Linked DNA regions of Homo sapiens: region 2 is linked to region 1. Evidence: promoter capture Hi-C in 16 types of primary human blood cells and fetal thymus (Javierre and others, 2016). All regions are on one chromosome and are shown on one strand. The core of a region is centred on a gene start or on the middle of the fragment in contact, and the rest is flanking DNA. Distances in the headings are between cores, read along the strand shown.

Region 1 (5,621 bases), core at 918-3,417:
CACCTGAGGTCAGGAGTTTGAGAACAGCCTGGCCAACATGGTGAAACCCCGTCTCTACTAAAACTACAAAAATTAGCCGGGTGTAGTGGCACGTGCCTGTAATCCCAGCTAATCCCAGCTACTTGGGAGGCTGAGGCAGGAGAATCGCTTGAACCTGGGAGGCAGAGGTTGCAGTGAGCTGAGATCGCACTACTGCATTCCAGCCTGGGTGACACAGCAAGACACCATCTCAAAAAAAAAAAAAAAAAAAGAAAAAAAGAAACTATATTGAATCCTCATTCCATACCCCAAGTGCATGAAATGATGTGTTGTAACTGGTGGGTGGGTTTGGTCAGTCCAGGTTGGCTGATAGGTTTATTTATCAGAACAGACTTTAAGAGGTTGTCACTGAATTGCAAGAGATGCCTTTCAAGTAACTTGCATCTGGGTGCTTTGCACCTTTCATTTCCCTCTCCCTTCTCATTGCTTGTACATCTCCTTTCTGGCTTGCTTTCTCTCAGGCCCTTTTTCAGGATGCATATTGTGTCAAATATAAATTTGGAAAACCTAGCCAGAGAATACTTGACTTGAGGGAGACAACCCTAAGAACATTGACCTGCAGTGGGCACTCCGGTGGGGCTAGAGTGTTCACTAGCCTGCCCCAAGTGTGACTTCTGCTTGTGTGTATCACCCATTTCTTTATTCATTTAGTACATATTTTCCAAGCGATTTCTCTGTGCCTCAGACACTGTGTGAGGTCCTAGGGACACAATGGTGTGCAGAAGGGAAAACTGTTGTTGCCCTCACATGGGGGAGGTAGCAACAATTACAAATTTACAGGAATAAATATGTGATAATAATATCCTAGCTCAACATAGAAAGGAAGTTATCTCAGTATTTACCTAACAGTTTTGTAATGTGTGTGTGCGCGCGCGTATATGTCTTCTTCTTTTCTCTTTGTTAAGTGTGAGTGGAGAAGATGATGGCTAACACTGAGTTCTGTCATGGCCATGGCACTTTTATACCCACATTCTTTCTTTTAATCATGGAATTCTCCACCCCAGCCCTCACCCCGTGGATGTCGGAGTAAGACAACATTGTTATCACTCAGATTGTCATTGGGAGGGTGAATAAATGAATGCTTGCATTATGAGAGTTTGGGGGCAGAAATATGCCACAGACTCTTATCTGAAGCCATCAGATTTAGTGGCTGCGAACCCACCGAAGTCAGGGATTTACATTTTTTACAGCAACGAGAGAAAACTTCCCCTTTCCTCTGCAGAAGTCAGGACTGGATCTCAAAAATAGAAATGTGTCCTCCTAAATGTGTGCCCATCCCCGTGGTTGACAAACAACGGATTTCCCAAGATAGCTGCCACACACTTGGTTTCTAATCTCTGTATTGCTTCCCCGCCAGAATGTCGAAGTCCTTCCCGAATATGCCCAGTCATACTTTCTGAACTTTTGAGCAAACACCGTCCGGCTTCTTGTGCTTTCCTCAAAGACCCCAGGCACCGGCAGGGAGGACACAGGCCGGGGCAGAGCGCCCCTGCGCGGGGGATTCCTGCCACTCCGCGCCAGCCTGCGGCGCAAACGCTCTTCTCAGCCGCAGTCCCACCCGCTGCTGGCAATCTGAATGAGGAGCCGCGCTATTTTTACCTCCCCGGCTGCAATCCTTTATATTTACATGCAGGAAGCAAATATATAAGGGATTAAGAAGGAGATGCGTGGCCTTAGTTTATCCAGAGCAGGAAGAGGTTGGAATAGGAGAGGGTATGTGAAGTCTGGGGTGGTGGAAAAGGCAGGTGGACTTCGGCTGGTTGTTTTCTCCCGATCATCCCTGTCTCTGGCCTGGAAACCCCCGTACTCTCTTTCTTCTGGCTTATCCGTGACTGCCGGCTCCCCCTCCACCGCCCCCATCTTTTGAGGTACCACCCGTCACCTCCGATGCTGCTTGGGCTGCTGCATCACTCTGCTGCTTTACCCCCTTCCCCGCCCCCCAACAAAGCATGCGCAGTGCGTTCCGGGCCAGGCAACAGCAGCAGCACAGCATCCAGCAACAGCATCAGCACCCGAAGCCCCGCTCGGGCGCGCTCTCGGGGGGCGGGGCGCACGCCCGCTCCGCGCGTCCCCGCGCCGCTCGCTCCCGCGCGTCCCCGCGCCGCTCGCTCCCGCGCGCCGCCTCAGCATCCTCAGGCCCGGCGGCAGCCCCCGCAGTCGCTGAAGCGGCCGCGCCCGCCGGGGGAGGGAGTAGCCGCTGGGGAGGCTCCAAGTTGGCGGAGCGGCGAGGACCCCTGGACTCCTCTGCGTCCCGCCCCGGGAGTGGCTGCGAGGCTAGGCGAGCCGGGAAAGGGGGCGCCGCCCAGCCCCGAGCCCCGCGCCCCGTGCCCCGAGCCCGGAGCCCCCTGCCCGCCGCGGCACCATGCGCGCCGAGCCGGCGTGACCGGCTCCGCCCGCGGCCGCCCCGCAGCTAGCCCGGCGCTCTCGCCGGCCACACGGAGCGGCGCCCGGGAGCTATGAGCCATGAAGCCGCCCGGCAGCAGCTCGCGGCAGCCGCCCCTGGCGGGCTGCAGCCTTGCCGGCGCTTCCTGCGGCCCCCAACGCGGCCCCGCCGGCTCGGTGCCTGCCAGCGCCCCGGCCCGCACGCCGCCCTGCCGCCTGCTTCTCGTCCTTCTCCTGCTGCCTCCGCTCGCCGCCTCGTCCCGGCCCCGCGCCTGGGGGGCTGCTGCGCCCAGCGGTGGGTATGGCCCCGTGCCCTTTGCGTTGGCTTTCCCGCGGGGCCCTGCAGAGGAAAGCGAAGGGCGCGCGGGTCCGTGTGCTCCGGGCTTGTCCCCGGCTCGGCCTTTCCTTCCCTCCCTGCCTGTCTTTCCACCCTTCTCGTTCCCAAACCCCCATTCATCCCAGTTCACTTTTGGAAGTCCATTTCTGTTGCATTCGCGAAAAACCCATTCCAATTCTTGTTGGTTCCACTGGGAGGTGTTTAGTGGATCCTGGGTCCCTCAGCGATCTCTGTGCAACTTGCGGAGGGGCAACCAGTGGATGGGAAATACAGCGAGGGAGCAAGTTGCTACTTGCGTGGTGGAACCTTAATGTGAATGCGGGGAGGATGTAGTGATAATAGTGGTAATGGGCTGTTTCCTCAAATTTCGTATCCGGCGCATTCAGTGCGGTTGGAATTAAGGTGGGGGAGGCACACTTCGGGGACCAAAGAATTAAGGTGCTGAAGACATACTTCATGCACGACCTTTGGTTCTGATTTCTCAAAGTGCTTGTCATTATAATGAACAATTAATATAATACCATCTTCTATATATTGATGATTGGAAGTCACTGAAAGCAGAAAGCTGGCTTTGTCAGGAAAATAAAAAGAAATTGGGAAGCTGCCAGCATCTGTATCCCTACATGGCAAAGTATGTTTGCTCATCTTAAAGTTAAAAGAGAAGGGAATTGTCCATTTTGTTAAAAGAGTCGATTAATATTCGGTATCCATAAATTCAGTACTCAAGTTATCTTAGGAGCGTTCTTAGCTCTTGGATGGGATGCCACTAGGCAGAGTAGAGTTGTGCTTCTGTGGACTCAGAGAAGGGGTGGAGATCGGGGGCAGGACCCCTGAACATGTTCATTTAATGACTCTTCTTCCCTCAAGTTCATTCTACCCCCCCCCCAACACTTAGAAGTATAGATTTGAGTCTGACTAGAAATGTATATATAAGACATAAATCAAAATAAATAGTGCACAGTTGTATAAGCCTTATTGGCTATTTATTAACTTCTCCAGGCCATTTTATTGTTGAAATAACTTGCTTTACTCTAGCTCTACTTCTTAACTGCTTATAAATAGAAAACTTTGTGTTTGAAATTAAAGGAAAAATGCATTTTAGTGCTTATGTATTTATGGGGTAAATATGTGTGTGTTTGTGTATGTTTGTATTTTCTGCTCCCCCACCCCCCTACCTCCACCAGCTCCGCATTGGAATGAAACTGCAGAAAAAAATTTGGGAGTCCTGGCAGATGAAGACAATACATTGCAACAGAATAGCAGCAGTAATATCAGTTACAGCAATGCAATGCAGAAAGAAATCACACTGCCTTCAAGACTCATATATTACATCAACCAAGACTCGGAAAGCCCTTATCACGTTCTTGACACAAAGGCAAGACACCAGCAAAAACATAATAAGGTAGGCAGGAGGCTGGCTATGCAAAAGTAACTATCATGAAGAGTTTTCCTTTGATTTGATTTTCTGCCAGAATCTGAGTTCACAAATTTTACTGCAGCATTTTATTAAGAAAGCAATTAATATTATGATAGGGGAGAAACTGGAAGGAATTAACTTGGGATCTACTGGGATAAGACTGTTGTTTCTCTTCTCTGACTAAACTGGAACTAGAATTTTCTGATACCTGAAATGATATCCATGTATCTTTCAGGTACATTGGGCACTGAACAGTAGTTAAGTGAATGTGTTTATGATTCTAACTTGTTTCTGTGAGGCTTTATGTAAGGGTGCAGTATTCTGCCTTGATATAAAACTGTCTCCCATGATATAAAAACTGCTTTCAATCTGCACATGCAAGATTGCTTCAAGAAGCTATTTGGCTGCAGTGTCTCCATCAGTCTTTCCACTTAGAAATTGAGTGTTTAAACAGTCTGTTTCTTTAATTGATCAGTAGGAGGAAAAAAAAATTTTCTGTTGTATTTTCAATAGGTAAACAATTTGACATTTAAAAAGATTATGGTGACTAGACACAAATTATTTGCATAATATGAAGACCAATTTTGATTGGCATAATTCTTCAGTACCTACTCTGCATTGATTATGAGCAGTTGCTTTACTTTCAGGTTAGTTCAGAAAGTGGAACTGATATTTACCAAGGTATCAGTAGAAGACAAATGTTTAATATCCAAAGAGTTTAAGGGATCTTTTTCCCTGTGTTACTATTCTTTACTTGAATTAATATTATTTTGAACCCCGAGCAGATTTAAACAATGGATTATCGGTTCTTCTGTTGTTTATCGGGAGCAGAAAATAGAGTCTGTATGTTAAATGTTTCATTTTGATCTGTACTTGTTCAGGTGAGAACAACAGTTAGCAATTAACTGTCTAAACATCTAGAATTTAAGAAAGTATCTGCAGTTTACATCATTGTTTTTTATTAGTTTTCTAAAATATAGGTGAGTGGTAACAGTATTTATCCCCATTTTACAAATGGGGAGCTAGAAATTTAAGGCTTTTGGGTGATTTTCCTATGTTGTAAAGCAGCTAATATAAAATTCAGGTGACCTGAATGTTTAATTTTTACTATTTTTTACAAGTTAGGTCTCTGAGAAAGTGCTTTCTTCACCTTGAATATTACTGGAGAGGTGAACTTTCTTTCACATTATTTTGAAGTGGCTGCTACCCACCGTGAGATAAATGTGTCTCTGTTCTCAGCCAGCCCTTTTCTCCATAAGCTCCTATATAACTTAATGGGGTGACTAATAGGTCATGTCTAACTCATTTGTCTTATTGATAGGAGAAATGGGTGTTGTCTTTAAAGAAGAGAAATCCAAGGCCCTTTTGATAAAATGCATTGAGGCTTTTATAGCTTTCCTTATGAATGAGACCTTTTAGAGTTAAGTGGTTAGTTCTCAAACTCCA
Region 2 (5,621 bases), core at 1,767-4,266, 260 kb before region 1:
ATGGACCAGACATAGTATTATTTTTTCTTTTTTTTGAGACAGGGTCTCACTCTGTTGCCCAAGCTGGAGTGCAATGGCATGCTTTTGGCTCACTGCAGCCTTGACCTCCTAGGCTCAAGTGCCTCCTACCTCAGCCACCCCAATAACTAGGACCACAGGTGCTCATGACCATGCCCAGCTAATTTTTAAATTTTTTGTAGAGATGAGGTCTCACTATGTTGCCCAGGCTGGTCTTGAACTCCTGGGCTCAAGTGATCCTCCTACCTCAGCCTCCCAAAGTGCTGGGATTATAGGCATGAGCAACTATACCCAGCAAATATAGTATATTTTTTGATAGGACTTGTGGTTATACTCCATATGTTCAAGTCTTGGTGAGCCTCAGTTTCACTCTGATTATCATTCTCCCAGCATGAGAGTTCCTTTCTGTAAAGTATTTAGTACTTGCTAAATTAAAATGAATGACTCTACGGTTATAATTCTTCAGTTCGTAATGCTTGTAGGGCTGACTAGAGAGAATTCAACAAGCATTTATTAGATTCCTACTATGCATTATTATTTTATGGCAGATGCAAAAGAAAACGGATTAATACTTACAGAGTGATAGCTTCAAAATCTGTATTTCAGCCAGACACAGTGGCTCACACCTGTAATCCCAGCACTTTGGGAGGCTGAGACAGGGAGATTGCTTGAGACCAGCCTGGGAAATATAGCAAAAACCTGTCTCTACAAAAAATAAATTTTTAAAATAGCCAGATCTAGTGGCTCATGCTGTAGTCCCAACTACTCAGGAGGCCAAGGCAAGAGGATTGCATGAGCCCAGGAGTTTGAGGCTGCAGCGAGCTATGATCAAGCCACTGCACTCCAGCCTGGGCAACAGAGCAGGACCCCACCTCAAAACAAATTTTTTCCTGAAAAATCTGGATTTGTTGTTGCCCTGACTTCTTAAACTCTAGATAAAGAGTTCCTACTATTTCCTAGACCAATCCATCTGGATGTCACTGGAGATTTTGACCTGAGATTTTGCATCCAAGGATGTTTTGAGTCCATGTTTATGAAAGCAAACATAGTAATCAGAATTATATCAATATGGATGGCTTCTCATCCAAAAGGTAGCTTTTGGATTAAATTTGATTATGACCACTTAATTTCTATATTAATTTCCTACAGAATGCAATTAAGCTTTATTTAAATTTTTATCTTATTGAAATAATTCTTTTCCATAATAATTTATGACAAAGATTAGATTTTTTTTTGAGACAGCCTTCTATTTTTGTTTTGTTTGTTTGTTTGTTTGTTTTTTTGAGACAACCTCCCGTTACAGAGGCTGGAATGCATGGCACGATCTCGGCTCACTGTAGCCTTTGCTTCCTGGGCTCAAGCAATTCTCCTGTTTGAGCCTCCTGAGTAGTTGGGATTACAGATGCTGGCTACCACTCCTGGCTAATTTTTGTATTTTTAGTAGAGACAGGGTTTCACCATGTTGACCAGGCTGGTCTCAAACTCCTGATCTCAAGTGATCCACCCATCTCAGCCTCCCAAAGTGCTGGGATTACAGGTGTAAGCCAGAGTGCCTGGCCAAAGATTGGATTTATTAATCAGTTTTACTTTATTTTTGCCCATACCAAATTTTGTCTCTTATAATTTCTACCAAAGTAAGTTTTATTTTGTGCCCGCTCCCTGTCCCTTTTTTTTTTTTTTTTTTTTTTTTTTTTTTTTTTTTTGAGACAGAATTTTGCTCTTGTTGACCAGGCTGGAGTGCAATGGTGTGATCTTGGCTCACCTCAACCTCACCTCCCGGGTTCAAGCAATTCTCCTGCCTCAGCCTCCCGAGTAGCTGGAATTACAGGCATGTGCCACTACGCCCAGCTAATTTTTGTGTTTTTAGTAGAGACAGGGTTTCTCCATGTTGGTCAGGGTGGTCTCGAACTCCCGACTTCCGGTGATTCGCCCACCTTGGCCTCCCAAAGTGCTGGGATTACAGGCATGAGCCACCGCACCCAGCCTTTTTTTTTTTTTTTTTTTTTTGAGACGGAGTCTTGCTTGTTACCAGGCTGGAGTGCAGTGGCGCCATCTCGGCTCATTGCAACCTCCACCTCCCGGGTTCAAGTGATTCTCCTGCCTCAGCCTCCAGGTATTTTTAGTAGAGACAGGGTTTCACCATGTTGGCCAGGATGGTCTCGATCTCTTGACCTCGTGATCCACCCACCTGGGCCTCCCAAAGTGCTGGGATTACAGGAATAAGCCACCGCGCCCTGCCCCTCTGCCTTTTTTCTTATCAAGACCAGTTTTTCTGGGTTAAGAAGACTTGAATGTCAGTTTTTCAATCAGCACAAAAGTATACTGTGTGTAACTCTGTCTTCTTCCATTTTATTTTGTGCTATTTCTATCTGTAGTATTGAATGAAGATCAAGCAGAAAAAAGATTAATAGTTATATTCATTTCATGGAGTTACAATCATACATGAGGCAAGTATGTAAAATTTTAGATTATAGTAGGGTTAGAATAAAGAGGTCAAAACATCCTGTGTTGCTCACAGGCATCTCAAATTCAATTTGACTATCGCTGAATTCATCATCCTACCTAAAACCTTCTGAGAAATCCGGCAGGGCAAAAAACAGAAGCAATTTATTCCCTTCCTCCCAACCCTAGCCCAGCAACTTTTTTGTTCTTCAATATTCAATTCAAATGCCACCTTTCTTAGAAACATTTTCTGACTTACCTTCCTGCAGATAATTATAATAATTATTATTGTTATTATTAAAACAATTTATAATAAAATGATAGTCAATGTTATTGAGAATTTACTAGATGCCAGACATGTATGATCTAATTTGATCCTCATAAGAATCTTACATACACTTGTAATCCCAGTGCTTTGGGAGGCCAAGGCAGGAGGATTGCTTGAGCCTAAGAGTTTGAGACAAGCCTGGACAACAAAGTGAGAAACTGTCTCTTAAAAAAAAAAAAAAGATCTTACATTGTGGGTAAGTACAGGTGACCCTTGAAAAACATGGGGGGTGCCTAGAGGCGCTGACCCCACACACAGTAAAAAAAATTTACATAAAACTTTTCGTTGTTATTGAGACATAGTCTGCCACTGTCACCCAGGTCAGAACGCAGTGGCACAATCATAGCTCACTGCAGCCTCAAACTCCTAGGCTCAAGTCATTCTCCCACCTCCACCTCCCAAGTAGCTGGGACTACAGAAGTACATCACCATGCCTGGCTGATATTTTTATTTTTGTAGAGATGGGGTCTTGTTATGTTGCCCAGGCTGGTCTTGAACTCTTGGCCTTAAGTGATTCTCTTGCCTCAGCCTCCCAGAGTGCTGGAATTACAGGAGTGAGTAACTGTGCCCAGCCCATTATTATTATTATTATTATTATTATTATTATTATTTTGAGACAGAGTCTTGCCCTGTTGCCCAAGCTGGAGTGCAGTGGTACAATCTCGTCTCACTGTAACCTCCGCCTCCCGGGTTCAAGTGATTCTCCTGCCTCAGCCTCCCTAATAGCTGGGATTACAGGTGTCTGTCACCACGCCTTGCTAATTTTTATATTTATAGTAGAGATGGTGTTTCACTTTGTTGGCCAGGCTGGTCTTGAACTCCTGACGTCAGGTGATCCGCCCACCTTGGCCTCCCAAAGTGTTGTATTGGGATTTTAGGCATAAGCTACCATGCCCGGACTTATTATTATTATTGAGACCAACTCTCTCACTCTGATGCCCAGGCTGGAGTGCAGTGGTGCGATCTCGGCTCACTGCAACCTCTGCCTCCTAGGTTCAAGTGATTCTCCTCCCTCAGCCTCCCAAGTACCTGGGACTACAGGCTTTTGCCACCATGCTGGCTAATTTTTGTATTTTTAGTAGAGACAGAGTTTCACCATGTTGGCCAGGCTGGCTGTCTTGATCTCCTGACCTCAAGTAATCTGCCCATCTCAGTCTCCCAAAGTGCTGGGATTACAGGTGTGAGCCACCATGCCTGGCCCTATTATTTTTTTTTTTAGAAACGAGTATCACTATGTTGCCCAGGCTGGATTCAAATTCCTGAGCTCAAGGATTCCTCCCAACTCAGCCTCCTAAGTAGCTGAGACTACAGGAACATACCACCAAACTTGACTTGCATATAACTTTTGACTCCCCCAAAACTTAACTATTAATAGCCTTCTGTTGATCAAAAGCCTTACTAATGACATAAAGTATCAATTAACACATATTTTGTATGTTTTATGTATTATATACGTATTCTTGCAATAAAGTAAGCCAGTGAAAAGAAAATGTTATTAGGAAATCATAAGGGGCTGAGAGCAGTGGCTCACGCCTATAATCCCAGCACTTCGGGAGGCCGAGGTGGGTGAATCATCTAAGGTCAGGAATTCGAGACCAGCCTGACTGACATGGTGAAACCCTGTCTCTACTAAAAATACAAAATTAGCCGGGTATGGTGGTGCATGCCTGTAATCCCAGCTGCTTGGGAGGCTGAGACAGGAGAATTGCCTGAACTGGGAGGTGGAGGTTTTAGTGAGCCAAGATCATACCACTGCACTCCAGCCTGGGTAACAAGAGCAAAACTCCACCTCAAAAAAAAAAAAAAAAAAAAAAGGAAACCATAAGGAAGAAAACATGTATTTACTAGCCATTAAGTGGAAGTGGACCATCATAAAGGGCTTCATCCTCATCATCTTTACAATAAGTAGGTTGTGGAGGGGGAAGAAGATGGGTGAGTCTTGCTGTCTCGGGGTGGTAGGGGCAGAGGGAGAAAATCTATGCCTAAGTGAATCTGCACAGTTGAAACCCATGTTGTTCAAGGATCAACTGTACTATTATTGGTCTCATTTTTAACAAACAACACTGAAGCTTATAGAAGCTTAGTAACTTACTCAAGATCACACAACCTGCAATTGCAGAGTCAGGATCTAAAGTCAGATCTGTTGGACCCATGGCCTGAGCTCTTAACCACTACAGCATTCCCCCTTCTGTCATACTTGTCTTATCACACTTAACACGTTATGTTGTCATTAATTTATTTTTAATTTCTTCTCTATTAGACTGTGAACTCTTTGAGAATAAGGACTGTCATGGCTGTACCCCCAGTGCCTTGTACACCTTAATATATCACAGGTGATTAACAGATGCTTAAGAAATGATTGGCTCCCATTCCAAACCAAAGATAATTTTAAAACTTCAGGTGAGATTTTGTGAGTTCACCCCTAAGTCAGGGTCACTGCCAGACTCTCTCCAACCTTGACCCACAGTTCCTTTTTTTTTTGGATGGAGTCTCACTTTGTCACCCAGGCTGGAGTGCAGTGGCGTGATCTCGGCTCATGCAACCTTTGTCCCCCGAGTTCAAGTGATTCTCCTGCCTCAGCCTCCAGAATAGTTGGGATTACAACTGCCACCATGCCCCGCTAATTTTTTTTGTATTTTTAGTAGAAACAAGGTTTCACCTTCTTGGCCAGGCTGGTCTTGAACTCCTGACCTCGTGATCCACCCGTCTCAGCCTCCCAAAGTGCTGCGATTACAGGAGTGAGCCACCGCACCTGGCTGACCCACAGTTCTATCATCAGGATCTTGGCTTATTCCTGGACACCAAATCCCTTCCTTCGTGTGTCCTATTCCAG

The links. The method cuts DNA at HindIII sites, captures the fragments that hold promoters and counts their contacts. A CHiCAGO score of 5 or more calls a contact.
Region 2: a contact is called between a fragment that was not itself captured here and the fragment with the promoter of ADAM23 in region 1, in 1 of 17 cell types (megakaryocytes). The highest score is 5.1, in megakaryocytes.

What each region holds. Positions count from the first base shown.
Region 1 is chr2:206,441,365-206,446,985 of GRCh38, forward strand. It overlaps ADAM23 (ADAM metallopeptidase domain 23), which reads left to right and starts at 2,168. Exons shown (of 26, transcript NM_003812.4): 1 at 2,168-2,716; 2 at 3,943-4,160. The coding sequence starts at 2,503. RefSeq lists a silencer at 2,613-2,742. The HindIII fragment of the contact is 8,746 bases long and covers 1-5,621 here.
Region 2 is chr2:206,177,372-206,182,992 of GRCh38, forward strand. The region is part of intron 1 of CMKLR2 (chemerin chemokine-like receptor 2); the gene reads right to left. Among named protein-coding and RNA genes, the nearest start is that of SNORA41, 18 kb to the left of the region's middle. The HindIII fragment of the contact is 3,678 bases long and covers 1,178-4,855 here.